2 separate regions of the Homo sapiens genome follow, and region 2 is linked to region 1. Evidence: promoter capture Hi-C in human tissues and cell types (Jung and others, 2019). All regions are on one chromosome and are shown on one strand. The core of a region is centred on a gene start or on the middle of the fragment in contact, and the rest is flanking DNA. Distances in the headings are between cores, read along the strand shown. Region 1 holds the start of CCL20 (C-C motif chemokine ligand 20). Region 2 has its middle 21 kb from the start of MIR5703.

Region 1 (7,834 bases), core at 2,046-4,545:
TTTCTTTTCTTGTGATGTGTTTATCTTATTTTGGTGTCAGGATAATACTGTCCTCATAGAAGAAGTTGAAGAGGGTTCCCTTCTCTTCTATACTTTGAAAAAGTTTGTGAAGAACTGGTATTAATTCTTATTTGAATGTTTTGTAGAATTAACCAGTGAATTAATCTGGTCCTGAGGTTTTATTTGTGAAAAATATTTGGTTATCAATTTGATATCTTTACTTGTTATAGCTCTATTCAAATTTTCTATTTTTTTTTTGAGATGGAGTCTTGCTGTGTCGCCCAGGCTGGAGTACAATGACACGATCTTGGTTCACTGCAACCTCTACCTCCCGGGTTCACGCCATTCTCCTGCCTCAGCCTCCCTAGTAGCTGGGATCACAGGTGCCCGCTACCACACCAGGCTAATTTTTTGCATTTTTAGTAGAGACAGGGTTTCACCATGTTAGCCAGGATGGTCTCGATCTCCTGACCTTGTGCTCCTTCCGCCTTGGCCTCCCAAAGTGCTGGGATTACAGGCATGAGCCACCACGCCCATCCCAAATTTTCTATTTTCTTCTTGAATCAGGGTCAATAATTTGTGTCTTTCATCTCTATTCGTATCAGCTGTGAGGTGGTCATAGATGACTTTTATCAGGTTGAGAAAGTTCTCAACTATTCCTAGTTAGTTGAGTGTTTTTGTCATGACAACGTGTTGGATTTTGTCAGTTGCTTTTCAAATCATTTTTATTTTTTATTTGATTGATTTGTTGTATTACATTTCCTGGAATAAATCCCACTTGGTTATGGTGTATGATCTTTTTACTGTGCTGTCGGCATAGTAATTTTATTTGCATACAGTTTTTTTTTTTTTTTTTTTTTTTTTACCTCCCTTTCCTTTGTTTGGTTTGGTCTAGTCAAGGCTTGTTAGTTTTGTTGATCTTCTCAAAGAACTAACTTTCGCATTCGTTGATTTCCTCTATTGTTTTGCATTCTCTGTTTTATTTATTCCTGCTCTAATCTTCATTTCCCTCCTTCTGCATGCTTTGGGTTTAGCTTGCTCTGCTTTTCTCTAGTTTCTTAAGGTAGAAGTTTGGGTTATTGTTTTGAGATGTTTCTTTTTTTTTTTTTTTAATGTGAGTGTTTACAGCTATAAGTTTCCTTCTGAGGACTGCTTTTGCTACATCCTATAAGTTTTGATATGTTGTGGACTTTTTTTTACATTTCAAAGTTGTTTTCTACTTTCTCTAGTGACTTTTCTTTTGACACATTGTTGTTGTTGTTGTTGTTTTTTCCTTTGAGATGGAGTCTCTGTTGGCCAGGTTAGAGGGCAGTAGCGTGATCTCGGCTCGCCGTAACTTCTGCTTCCTGGGCTCATGCGATTCTCCTGCCTCAGCCTCCCAAGTAGCTGGGATTACAGGCATGGACTACCACACCCGGCTAATATTTGTATTTTTAGTAGAGACAGGGTTTCACTATGTTGGCCAGTCTGGTCTCGAACTCCTGACCTCAGGCAGTCCACCCACCTCGGCCTCCCAAAATGCTAGGATTACAGGCATGAGCCACCACTCCTGGCCAGACACATTGGTTATTTAGGAATATGTGGTTTCCTTTCTGTCTGTTACTGATTTCTGATTTAATTCCATTGTGGTTTGAATGTATACTTTATGTGATTTCAGTCGGTTTACATTTACTGAGACTTGTTCCATAACCTACCATATGCTTTATCCTAGAGAACATTCCATGTGCAACTATTCTGTTGATGTTGGATAGAGTAGTCCTTCGATGCCTGCTAAGTCTATTTGGCTTATAGTGTTGTTCAAGTCTTCTATTTTCTTGTGGATCTTCTGCCTAAATTTTATTAATTAGTGAAAATGTGGTACCAAAGCTGTCAACTTTTATTGTTAAATTTCCTATTCTGCTGGGCACGGTGGCTCATGCCTGTAATGAGGTCAGGAGTTCAGCCTGGGCAACATGGTGAAACCACGTCTCTACTAAAAATACAAAAATTCGCTGGGCGTGGTGGCACGTGCCTGTAGTCCCAGCTACTCAGGAGGCTGAGGCAGGCGAATCGCTTGAACCCAGGAGGCGGAGGTTGTAGTGAGCCGAGATGGTGCCACTGCACTCCAGCCTGGGCAACAAGAGCAAAATTCTGTCTCAAAAGAAATTATAATAATAAAATAAAATAAAATTTCCTATTCTTCCCTTCAATTCTGTCAGTTTTTGCTTTCTGTAGTTTGGGGTGCTACTGTTAGGTATATATATGGTTATAGGTTTTACATCTTCCCAATGGGTTAATTTTGTGTTACCATGAAAGTCCCTTTTTATTTCCGGTAACATTAAAAAAAAATCTATTTTGTCTGATATAGGCATCACCAACTCCAGTTCTCTTTTGTTTACTGTTTGGTATACCTTTCTTTTGATCCTTTTACTTTCAACCTATTTGGGTCTAGTGGAGAGTTCTTATACTGCCTTAGGTTAGGGATTCATATTACATTATCATCATTAGTACTGTTATTTGACATTTGCTGTGCTGACTAGCTACTGCTGATAGGTTTTCTTTCCTCAACAATTCTGAGGCTCTATATTGAGTTATATTAGTACATCATCATGGAGAGTTAAAGGTAGGTAAGGATTATTTTCTGAACTGCAATATTGATTAAAGCCATGTGAATGTATAAGATTCTTAGAAGAGTTGACATTAAATCAAGGTGAAGCTGAGGTTTGAGCCTTACTTAAAGGCTGATATTTTCCACTCTAACTGCGGACAGTACTGTAGCACTGTTATAGTACCTGCTCTGAATGTTAGTCTAGCAACTCAGGGTCTTCTTCATGACAGCTGAACCTCAACCATGTGATGGTAAATGTGTAGCAGAGTATGCCTGGCATCCCACCTGCTCCTCCTCCCCCTCCTCCTTGACTGGTTCTGGAAAGCAAATAGGGTGTAACAATAGGAGTTCTGGAATGTTCCTGTGTGGGGCTGACCTTTGTATCGCTGTTAATCCTCTATTTTCAGACACAAAAATGATTAAGTTAAAACTGGATGAAAGTCTTTTCTGGGTCACAGGGCTGAGCTGCTTTTGCTCTTTGCAAATACAAAGAATTTAACAGGATTCTCCCCTTCTCAACTTCCTGTCCCCCACCCTGACCTTCGCACCTTCCCAATATGAGGAAAAAGCAGGAAGTTTTCCTTGCGGGTTTTTTTTATGATGACATGATGGGGCCAGTTGATCAATGGGGAAAACCCCATGTGGCAACACGCCTTCTGTGTACATTCCCAATATTTGCTATAAATAGGGCCATCCCAGGCTGCTGTCAGAATATAACAGCACTCCCAAAGAACTGGGTACTCAACACTGAGCAGATCTGTTCTTTGAGCTAAAAACCATGTGCTGTACCAAGAGTTTGCTCCTGGCTGCTTTGATGTCAGTGCTGCTACTCCACCTCTGCGGCGAATCAGAAGGTAAGTGTCGCTCTTTCCGCTAGCACAGAAGAAAGACTATTTTCATTTTCCTTTTAGCCTTGAGCTCAACTGGGGGTCCCTAAGGGATGGAAAACTGTTAGGAAGTATACAAGAGGTAGTGATGGAAGTTGTCTGCCCATGGTGGAGTGGAGGAGAGAAGAGTTACTGCTGCGGATCAGGCTTTCCTCTCTGCTGTCAATCTCAGCAGATTTGGGGAGTGGTGGGCTCTTAGAGATCCCTAAACTTCAGGATAAAGCCAAAGTGATGTTTCTGGGAGTGATATAAAGTGTGTAATGTTACCAGTAGATGGGGCCATTTTGAAATGTAGAGAATCCTCCTGTGTCCCCAACTTTCGTACCTCCCAACTTAATAGTTTTGGTAAAGTTCAAAACTCATCCTTTAGAAGTAGATTATAATACCTGACATCAACATCCCCACAAGGCATGGGGGACATTGCTTGCCAACTTTAAAATAACATTAATCCCTTACCTTACAGCATGTTGTAATCTGACTCGGGAATGTCCAAGTATTGCTTTATTGCTCAATAGTCACACAACACTTTTAGCAACAGGTGCATTCCTAAAAATGCACATTGAATTTTTTTTTTTTTCTGAGGCAGGGTCTAACTTCATCACCCAGGCCAGAGTGCAGTGGCATGATTACAGCTCACTACAGCCTCAACCTCCTGGAGTCAAGTGAACCTCCAGTCTCAGCCTCTTGAATAACAGGGACCACGGCCGTGTGCCACTCACCTGGCTAATTTTTTTACATTTTTTTTTTTTTTGTAGAGACAGGGTTTCACTGTGTTGCCCAGGCTGGTCTCGAACTCCTGGAGGCAAGCAATCCTTCCTCCTTGGCCTCCCAAAGTGCTGGGATTACAGGCATGAGCCACCATGCCCAACCACATGTTGAACTTTTATGAACAAAATTAAACATTCCTATTAATTAATAGGACAATTTCAAAGTGTTTTCACTCCTATAAATCATATTTCCCTTTGTAGCTCTATTTCTCAATACTTAGTAGCCAGATAATAGATTAAAATCTGCCAATTTATTCATTTTCTGCTTTTGGAAGTTTATCTACATAAGGGTTCCTTCAAGCAGTAGGGAAGGGGCTGCTCATATTCTTGAATGATTATAGTGAACTGAAATGAAATATTGTCAATTTGTATTTCTTACTGAAGATATCCCACTTATGAGAAGTCCTGTGTTTCTCAATTCTATTATTGAACCAAAACTTCTCGGCACACAAACTGTTTTTTCAAAGAACTGTAAACTATGTTAGATTGGTTCTCAACGACCTTACAAAGGTTTCCAAGACATTGAAACTCCTCCTCTAAGTGGTTTATTCGTCATATACATGAGATTCACTAGATTTTTCACAACTTAAGGTAGTTTTATAATACCAATCACAGGATAAGTTTATTCATGTGGATCCAATACCTTTCACTTTTTTTTTTTTTTAGCAGCAAGCAACTTTGACTGCTGTCTTGGATACACAGACCGTATTCTTCATCCTAAATTTATTGTGGGCTTCACACGGCAGCTGGCCAATGAAGGCTGTGACATCAATGCTATCATGTAAGTTATTAATTGATTTTAATTCAGTTGTATCAGGAATACCTAGAAACTTCAGTTTTAAAAATGTTTGCCTTTTTAGAGTTTCATTCAGAAATTACTGATGTTTTGAACATAAGATCTTATTTTAAAGAGAAAGAAATGATGTGGCAAAGATAGCTTTGTCTTAGTACATATCTACTTTAAAGTTCACTTTAAACAGGACTGGAATAAGGCAAAACCTTTTTTAAAAATTTTTTTTGGTCAAACGGAACTAGTATAGGGCAAAAATCACTTTCTAAGGCTATTAAAGTGATATATTAGGAAAATAGGGAAGATACACATTTCGAAATGAGCATCTTCTACCAGAAAGTGTTTGAGACCAAAAGTAAAATCTCAGACTAATTATACTATCACATATAATTTTCTTGATTTATATAGGATATTATATTTTGGAATTATACAAGTTATTGATCAGATACATACATATTCTATGTAACCACCAATAGCAAAATTATATGACAATTCTGGGACTTTATCTTCCTGCCATTGTACTATTATTTGTTACATTGCAGAGAAAGAGAGAATCACTTTGATTTTGCATTAATCTTCATCAGAAGCATTTTTTGTGCATTTTATTTTACCTCATCAACTGAAATGTTTAGTGTGTAATCAACTGGAATATAAAATTTCCATTGTATGTTCTATGAAAAACCCATTGAAAAGCTCATTAAACACAAATCAAATTTTCTGATTTTTCAGCTTTCACACAAAGAAAAAGTTGTCTGTGTGCGCAAATCCAAAACAGACTTGGGTGAAATATATTGTGCGTCTCCTCAGGTATGTTACACTGACATTTAGCCTTTGCAAATGTTTGAGGAAAGAGGAGTGTGCAAAGGGGTGGGCCGTAGGTTTTCTGGGATTCTTTAGTTTAACTATTGTGGAATTTTTAAAGGGAAAATTTGAGTTGGACCACAAAAACAAAGAATGCATTTTTCCACTTACAGATCATCATCGTTATTATTATTTTAATTTAGTGATTTCTTACATGATGTATTAGATTTCTCTATGCATTTGATAGTTACTAGCTGCCTGATTCTTGTTGCAAAGATGCCTACTATTTATATAATTTAAAGGCAATCTGGCATTTGGTTGTTTGTTAAAAACTGAAAAATGAACATTAGTTAAACAGAGATCAATGGTTCTGATTTACGTTGACAATAATAGACAGTAACACTTTATCAATGGACAGAAGGCACCTAACACCAGCATGCCATAGATACTGAACTTGGAGACACAAGATAAGTGTCCATAGCCTGTTTCTGTCATTAATGAGCTGAGTTAGGTTGGGCAAGGGCCATCCTCTCTAAACCTCAATTTCCTCATCTGAACTCTGAGCTGCTTGACATACTGAGTTGAGATTAAGGGCAGGTGAAGCAACCTTTAGGTACCAAAGTCATTCCCACCATGCAGTCACCTTGTCATTACTTACACTTTTCTTCTTTTTCATTTTACAGTAAAAAAGTCAAGAACATGTAAAAACTGTGGCTTTTCTGGAATGGAATTGGACATAGCCCAAGAACAGAAAGAACCTTGCTGGGGTTGGAGGTTTCACTTGCACATCATGGAGGGTTTAGTGCTTATCTAATTTGTGCCTCACTGGACTTGTCCAATTAATGAAGTTGATTCATATTGCATCATAGTTTGCTTTGTTTAAGCATCACATTAAAGTTAAACTGTATTTTATGTTATTTATAGCTGTAGGTTTTCTGTGTTTAGCTATTTAATACTAATTTTCCATAAGCTATTTTGGTTTAGTGCAAAGTATAAAATTATATTTGGGGGGGAATAAGATTATATGGACTTTCTTGCAAGCAACAAGCTATTTTTTAAAAAAAACTATTTAACATTCTTTTGTTTATATTGTTTTGTCTCCTAAATTGTTGTAATTGCATTATAAAATAAGAAAAATATTAATAAGACAAATATTGAAAATAAAGAAACAAAAAGTTCTTCTGTTGATTGAGTTTTATATCATTTTTATGATGTGTATTGAAACCATTTCCAGGCACAGAAAATATAAGAATTTTCTGAGAAATTATATCCTCCACTTACTTCTAGTTGTTCCCTTTATCTCGGCCCCTCATGGCCCTGGACTTGATTTTACATGAATTATAATGGAACAGTTGTTCTTTTTTTTCTTTAATTCAAAGTCGTCCAGATTAAAAGTTGAAAAAGATCCTATATCTGAGATTCATAACCCAATGTTTATTGATTTAAGAAAACTGTTTAAAATAAGAAACCATGCCCACACACCTTTTGACTACAGGGACACAACAACCATTTAGAATATACCTTCAGGCATCACTTCTTCCATCCTTCTGTCACCAGCCAGGATCTCAGCATACGAACATTTCTCCATTTAAAAGTCCTCCCGAGTCATCTTTAAGCAGTTTCCGAAAGGAAAATGACTATTCAGAGAGTTCTTAGTGGCTGCCTTGCTAACCAGCGGGGAGCCCCCAGACGTGTGAAACCTGGTAAGAGCCCAGCAATCAGGATGAAAAGACTCTGAACCAGTAGTTACTATCACTACATTCATGCATCAAGGTTCACAGAGTGCCTCGGATTCCAAAGGACACACAGGATCACTGGAGGCAGGCATGCTGATGATATGATGCAAAATCAAGACACATAAACCCATAAAGTAGGGCAGTGGTGGGTCACTTGATGTGGAGCCAAAAAAGAGTAAGTGGCTCAATAGTCCCCAAGGGCGTCTGCATCCTCAGGAACAGCAACATTGAATCATCAGGGAAAGTATGCTCAACATCCTGTGTGT
Region 2 (7,834 bases), core at 2,017-4,516, 360 kb before region 1:
AACAGGTAGGGAAAGGAAGTCTTACATTTACCACCATTCTGTGTGGTAGGCATTTTTTTTTTCATACATCATGAGCTCATATAACTACTGTCATTTTTTTTTTTTTTTTAGACGAGGTTTCGCTCTTGTTGCCCAGGCTGGAGTGCAATGCTGCGATCTTGGGATCTCGGCTCACTGCAACCTCCACCTCCCGGGTTCAAACAATTCTCTTGCCTCAGCCTCCCAAGTAGCTGGGATTACAGGCATGTACCACCACGCCCCGCTAATTTCTTATATTTAGTAGAGATGGGGTTTCACCATGTTAGTCAGGCTGGTCTCGAACTGCTGACCTCAGGCGATCTGCCCGCCTCAGCCTCCCAAACTGCTGGGATTACAGGTGTGCACCACTGTGGCCGGCCGACTATTGTAATCTTTACAAGTAAAACAAAACTAAGGAAAAAGTGTATTAAATATATCTCCAGTTAGGACCTGATGCATCGATTCTTAGTTCTGCTAATGTTCAGTGCAACTGTCTTCCCTGTGATGAATTTGTGTTTGAGGTGTCCTTGGAAGCCTCATTCAGTAGGGAAGGAATGTGAGTGACTAAGTTTAACAACAATAAACGATGAACATTCTCAACTGTATGCTTTGTACAGATGCTTCACATACTAAATATCACCACGGAGTCTCCACTAAGCCTTAGCTGCACCCTTCTCATAAATACCCTGAGAAATGCCCAAAGATCAGGCACGGCTCATTAGGAAATGTAACGGAGTCGTGACTGAACACAAGTGACAGATTTTAATTCAGATTAGCTCAACAGTGCAGTAAAGTCCAATCTTGATTCTGTCGGGGGTGGGGAGGGAGCAGAAACAAAAGAATGTCATAATCAAGGCCAGACTTCAAGGAAGGGATAACTCTCCAATAGGCTGAAGAGTAAATGTATTCAATGTTTCAAGTATACAAGCATTATTCCTATAATGATATCAACACATTATTAAAAAACCGTATTTAACAAGGATTCTCAGCGGATCCAGCTTGCTTCCCATACTTTCAAAATGTCTGCTCTAACCTGGAATTAATGGGTAACAACCTTGTGGTCTTTGAAAATATTAATTTAGGTTAGATTCACAAAACTACAAACTTGAAGCAAGCAAAAATATGATGACGTGATAACCTTAAGCCTATTGTTTGTAATTGCTGCTTGCTTTTTCGATGCTAGTATTTTGGTAACAGTTCATAAAGCACACTGCCCTATCCATTTTCCTCCTGACATTTAGCATTGAAATCTATATTATAGATGACACCAAGGCCAGTGCCAGATTCCACAAAAAGTTGGGGATGGAACAACCACTCAGGAAGCTTCTGTTAGCCAAAGTCCTTCCAAACCTGCAGGAAAAAAAAAAAAAAAAATATGCCCTAGCCTTTCCTTTCCTCTTCCCTTCCTTTCCCCTCTTCCCTTCCCTTTCTTTTCTCCCTCTCCTTGCCTTTTTCTTTAACCTTCTCTTATTGTATCACTCCATTCACCGTATATTCTTTTTTCCTAAGAAATTGAATTCTCCCCTTTAAAAAATGGAGAGTATAATTTGGGGTGGGGGTACCTCTTGAATATTCTTGAGATATTTGTTTGCTATGAAAAGTTTTTCACTTTTAACTCTTTGACTTTGCTTGACTCTGCTCTGCCTATACAAACTTGAATATGTAGAAACAAGAATACAAGCTTCTGATTAACAACAGGGCCCTAATGATTGAGGCAAGCAGTTTTTTTCCCTTCTACATTTAATGGCTTTTTTCCTTGGGTTTCTCGAAAGTTATTTGGTTAATCTGGAGTCTTACTAAACTCAACACAATCCTAATTTTAGAATAACTAGAAAATATAATTTTGTTTCTCTGTGTGATTGTTAATGCTTGCTTATCTTGGGACTAAAAAATATAATTAATAGGCTGGGCACGGTGGCTCGCGCCTGTAATCCCAGCACTTCGGGGGGCCGAGGTGGGTGGATCACCTGAGGTCAGGAGTTTGAGACCAGCCTGGCCAACATGGTGAAAACCCATCTCTACTAAAAATACAAAAATTAGCCGGGTGTGGTGGTGCACGCCTGTAGCCCCAGCTACTTAGGAGGCTGAGGCAGAAGAATTGCTTCAACCTGGGAGGCAGAGGTTGCAGTGACCCGAGATCGTGCCACTGCACTCTAGTTTGAGCAACAGAGCGAGACTCCATCTCAAAAAAAAAAAAAAAAGAAAGAAAGAAAGAAAGAAAGAAAGAAATAGAATTAGTAAAAATTGTGTTTGAAACGGTTTATTTCAAAATAGTGTGTGCTCCTCAGAGTCATTTAATCAGTCAAGTAATCTGCTTTGTTTGGGGCAGTGAATAGATAAGCAGCAGGAAAAAAAAAAAGCTTAGGAAAAGACCTAAATTGGGGTTTTTTAACGTTGGCACCATTGACATTTCAGGCTGGATAACTCTTTGTCGTGGGGTTGTACTGGGAACTGTAGGAGGTTTGGCAGCCTTCCTGGCCTCTACCCAACCAGTAGCAACCCCTTTCCTTGATATGTGACAATCAAAAAAAGTCTCCAGATATTGCTAAATATCCCCAGGGGGTCAAAATTGCCCCCAGTTGAGAACTACTAACCTAAATTCAGCAGTGAAACTGTTTTATGAACTGTGTCTCTCTGAGATTTATTTCAGAAACTTTCAAAAATTAAAAACTGGGACAGAGCCTGCCTAAAATTTTACGTGGCTCTAAATTTTCCTCCGTCATTTGCCTAAGACAGCATGTCACAGGCTCTCTCTGGAGACCTGGGCCTGCTCCAGGTCTTTGATGATCTAATAGATCTTCTTTTCTGTCTCAGTATTCTGGACAATGACAGCATAATCAATGCGCTGATGCTGAAAACATGCTGAGAAAACAATGGGAACAGGGTCAAATCGTCCTGAAGAAAGATTCTTTTTTAGTAGCATGGACCAGACATAACATTGTGATATACATTTTTCATAAAGCAGAAAACTCCATGATTCAAGGAGAAGTAAAAATCATTCTTTTTATTGTATTCAAGTCCAGTATACATCCATGCATGGATGGAGTTAAGATATAGTGACAAAAGGAGAAATCTCGAAATATGCTACCAGGTGGCTTAAAAATCACAGCTGAATCTATACGGTCAACTTGGCAGTAAAACACGTTACTTATTTCCTGTTTGGGAAAAATACCGCACTATGCTTCCTAGATTCAACTGAATTATGAAATGCAGAAATTGAAATGGGTACAAAAAGTATACTATTTTTTTATCCCTCCCCCCCCCCCCCGTTTCCTTTCTTCTTTCCTTCCTTTTTTTTCTGACAGCATTCACACATAGAAGAAAAGTTGATTCAATGCATCTGGATTGTGAAATAAAGCATAAGGTGTGGACAGGCAGTACAAGTATTGCATACTGTTAATGTTTAATTAAATATTTGAAATCAAACAGTTGACTTAGCAAGTGCTATAAAGAAGAGAGTGTAGATTTTACTAGCTTCTCCATAGCTTGGAAAAAAATTCAGATTGTACCAACCAAGGACAGGTTTTCAGTCGTAAAAGCTAAACATTATTCCATGGATGGCTCCTAGTGGGTGACTTTGGCTCCCTGGCTGCACTGCCCATGTGACTTTACAGATCAGAAAACATCTTCTACTAGGCGAGTTAAGAGGGGGTCAGACCAATGAGTGGCTAATTTGTAAGGATTTCACTTAACTGAAAGACACCCTTCTGAGTGCTTTCTAAACCCCATTAACAGAAATTAGTGTTAAAAGTTAAAAACCAGTAATAATCTGACCTTCAAGCATGCTATACTATAAACTGAACTCTCTATTTTCTGGCTACTGCATTTTCCACTACCAGCCCTAGCCCAGGTTGCTTCCTCTGCCTGAGATGTTCTTTCCTCCCAGCGCCATGTGCACTCCAAATCCTGCCCATCTTAACTGCTACTTCCTCCAAGAAGTCTCCCTTCCCTTATCCTTCAAGACTGAGGGACTCATGCCTTCCTGTGAACTGCCTTAGTGAATTATCTCACCCCTCTTGTGACACTTCACTTTCTGTCTTGTTTTAAGATCTTTTGTGTTTCCTTTTTTATTCCATTTTATTATATAAAAGTCCTTTGTGGAAAGGACTTGCACCTGGTTCCTTGTTCCATTCCCCACACCACATGGCTCGGGACTTTGTACACTGTTTAGCAGATAACAATTTAAATGAATGACCCATTAGATATCATGTTGGTGTCTGATATTTGTTCTACCCAGAGTGAGTCCATCTGGAGGGTGAGATAATGTCGTTCAGCTCCTTTCCAACCCCATCAGCAGTCCTAGGTGAAGAAAGGCAAAGGCCTGTTATAGATCAACTCCCTGGACTAATGTTGCAATCATTCTCTTTGCAAACATGTGTCAGCGTTTCTGCTTCCATATCTTTCTACATATCCGCAGTGAACAAACTCCCTAAGAAACACTGGCTTATTGAAATGGGGCATGTTACTAAATACACAGCATTCTTTTTATCTCCCTTCTCTGCTGTATAACACACCAACCTCCACTTGCACATTCAGAAATATAAAAATGATTACATTATGTAAATCCAACCCCTTTGTAGGGATCACTGCCAGAGAGATGTTAAAATGACATTACACCTGACCTTTCTGAAAAGGATAATGCTCCAGAAGTAAATTCTTACAAATGAGGATGGACAACACTTGGAGTTCTTTTTTTTTTTCTTTTTTTTTTTTCTTTGGAGTCTCACTCTGTCACCCAGGCTTGAGTGCAATGGTGTAATCTTGGCTCACTGCAACCTCTGCCTCCTGGGTTCAAGTGATTGTCCTGCCTCAGCCTCCTGAGTAGCTGGGATTACAGGCGCCTGCCACCATGCCCAGATAATTTTTTCTATTTTTAGTAGAAATGAGGTTTCACCATGTTGGCCAGGCTGGTCTTGAACTCCTGACCTCAGGTGACCCACCTGCCTTGGCCACCCAAAGTGCTGGGATTACAGGCATGAGCCACCATGCCTGGCCAACATTCAGAGGTTTTTTTTTTTTTTCTTTTTTTTTTAAAGAAACCCCTATTGGCTTGTTATTTTATATAAATAAGCATTTTGATTAAAAGAACTATTTGAACTGAATATTTTCTCCCACAGAATGGGAATTAGATTTCTTTAACTTAGCCTGGCTTAGGGTCTCTCTGTCTTCCTTTTTTTGAAGATCTGAAACTCTGGCAAAACAATGTCATATTTTCTGCTAATTTGTGGTTATTGTCCTTTTGCAGGATTTGAATCTTATATGAAGTTTATTTTGTCACCAGGACTATATACCAGAATTTGAGTCTCAGCTGGTATCGGTGGGGGAAGGCCATGGTGGTCTACTGGACAGCACCTGGAAAAAGATGGCATTTGAGTTTGGGCTATGCCACTACTGGCAGTTTGGTTTGGGGAAAGCCAAGTCTTCGCCTCTCAGTCTCCTATCTGAAAAATTGAGACAATAACAATACATATTTCCCAGAATTTTTGTGAGATTTTAATGAGATAATGCATGAGAAAATGCACTGTATACAATACTATACAAATACCAACCCTTCTTCCTATATCACCAGACTCTGCCACATTCATTGAAATCAGCACTTGGTGTTTACGAACATCTTCTCCATATGAGATGCAGAGGACAGAAATTTAAGAGATGCTGACCTTGCCTTTGCAGAGTATTTAACCTTTTTTTTTTTTTTTTTTTTTTGAGATGGAGTCTTGCTCTGTCACCTAGGCTCTGTCACCTAGCCAAGATCACGCGATCTTGGCTCACTGCAACCTCTGCCTCCCTGGCTCAAGCAATTCTCCTGCCTCAGTCTCCCGAGTAGCTGGGATTACAGGCACCTGCCACTATGCCCGGCTAATTTTTCCATTTTTAGTAGAGACAGGGTTTTACCATGTTGGCCAGGCTGGTCTCAAACTCTTGACCTCAAGTGGTCCGCCCACCTCAGCCTCCCAAAGTGCTGGGATTACAGGCATGAGCCACACCAGGCCTTAACCTTTAAGTTTCCTTCCTTCCTTCTTTTTTTTTTTTTCCAGGCAGAGACTTACTGTGTCACCCAGGCTGGAGTGCAGTGGTGCAATCTCGGCTCACTGCAACCTCTGCTCCTGGGGTTCAAGTGATTCTCCTGCCTCAGCCTCCCGAGCAGCTGGGATTACAGGCACGTGCCCCCATGCCTGGCTAATTTTTGTATTTTTAGTAGAGACGGGGTTTCACCATGTTGGCCAGGTTGGTCTTGAACTCCTGACCTCAAGTGATCTGCCCGCCTTGGCTTCCCAAAGTGCTGGAATTACAGGTGTGAGCCACTGCACATGGCCTTTTAAGTTACGTTTAAAAATAAGTTTAATTATGTTTGCTTTGTGAATCTAAAAAAGTGGCTTTTCTTCTGTGAGTATTGGTTTCCTCATCTGTAAAATGGAAGTAGTAATAACTATTTTTCGAGAACAAAGGAGGTAATACACATGAAGCATTGGCATAGTACCTGTCACGTCTAGTTGCTCAGTAAATGGTACCTTTTCAAAGAATAAGAAAAGTGCCCACCTAGTATTATAAGGCTTCAAATTAATAAGCAAGAACCATTATGTCTAGTTCGAAAAGTCTGGAAAGGCTTTATAGAAGATTTAGAATCTGAGCAGAGGCTCAATGTACAAACAGATTTCTGCATTTGAAGATAATAGCAGCAATGGCCAATATTTGCCACACACTGTTCAAAGCACTTTACATGTATTAACTCATTTAATACCAAAACGCAGTTGGTATTTTCATCCCCATTTTGCAAATGAGAAGACTGAGGTACCAGAGTTGAAGAGACTAACCCATAGTCTCACAGATGATTTGGGGGAGAGCAAGGACCAGACCTAAACAGTCTGGTTCCTGAGCCTCAGCTCATAACCACCACTTAGAAGGGGCAGTGGGGACCAATGCAGTGGCTCATGCCTATAATCCCAGCACTTTGGGAGGTGGAGGCAGGAGAATTGCTTGAGCCTAGGAATTCAAGACCAGCCTGGGCAACATAGAAAGACTCCATCTCTTAAAAAAAAATAGCTGGGTGTGAGGGTGTGGGCCTGTAGTCCTAGCTACTAGGGAGGCTGAGGTGTGAGGATGGCTTGTGCCCAGGAGATCAAGGCTACGGTGAGCTATGATTACTCCACTGCATTCCAGCTTGGGGGACAGTGCAAGACTCTGTGTCCAAAAAAATAAAAATAAATAAACAGAATGGGACAGTGAGCTGGAGGGTGAGAGGGATGGAGGAGACAGGCAACCAAAAGCATTATAGGTGCAGAGATGATGAATGAAAACCCTAGGGTCTTCCCCTCCTGAGAGAAAGTAGTGTGAATAGGTCAGAGGCACAGTGGGAAAGGAGCCCTGTGTGATGGAAAAACTGGGGAGACAAAAGGCCAGAGGGAGAGTGTTGTCACTGAGTTGCAGAGAGGTGGCCTCACCACTGAGCCCAGTTCATACCTGTTGATTATGAAGGCAGCAAGAAGGAGAGTTCCAGATTTTGCAAGTCCAGGCCAGATGTAAACATAAGGCCAGTGTTTTCTTAGGAGGCTACCTGGTCCAAGAGGGCAAGGTAATCCCCTCCTCTGTCCACAAAATGCTGCTGACCTTTGACTTTTGCCAGAAAAGCTTTCATCTGGTGTCACCTCTCACCAGGTCCTGGCAATTATGTACATTTCTTAAAAAGGTTAGACTAGCAATTTTTCAAGCTTGCACAGTAGAATGTCATTGTGTGCATGTTTAATTAATCAAGCTGGCATCTAGACTGTGAAAAGCAAGTCTGCAAAGCACCTTGAAGAAAATAATAAACATCCTT

What was found. Contacts are between HindIII fragments. The study calls those that stand out against the background at their distance.
Region 2: a contact is called between a fragment that was not itself captured here and the fragment with the promoter of CCL20 in region 1, in 2 of the 25 tissues and cell types used here (H1 embryonic stem cells and aorta).

What each region holds. Positions count from the first base shown.
Region 1 is chr2:227,810,547-227,818,380 of GRCh38, forward strand. It overlaps CCL20 (C-C motif chemokine ligand 20), which reads left to right and starts at 3,296. Exons shown (of 4, transcript NM_004591.3): 1 at 3,296-3,441; 2 at 4,908-5,022; 3 at 5,761-5,838; 4 at 6,516-7,010. The coding sequence starts at 3,366. The coding sequence ends at 6,537. RefSeq lists an enhancer at 7,233-7,834. The HindIII fragment of the contact is 20,627 bases long and covers 1-7,834 here.
Region 2 is chr2:227,447,170-227,455,003 of GRCh38, forward strand. No RefSeq gene overlaps it. Among named protein-coding and RNA genes, the nearest start is that of MIR5703, 21 kb to the right of the region's middle. The HindIII fragment of the contact is 3,492 bases long and covers 1,521-5,012 here.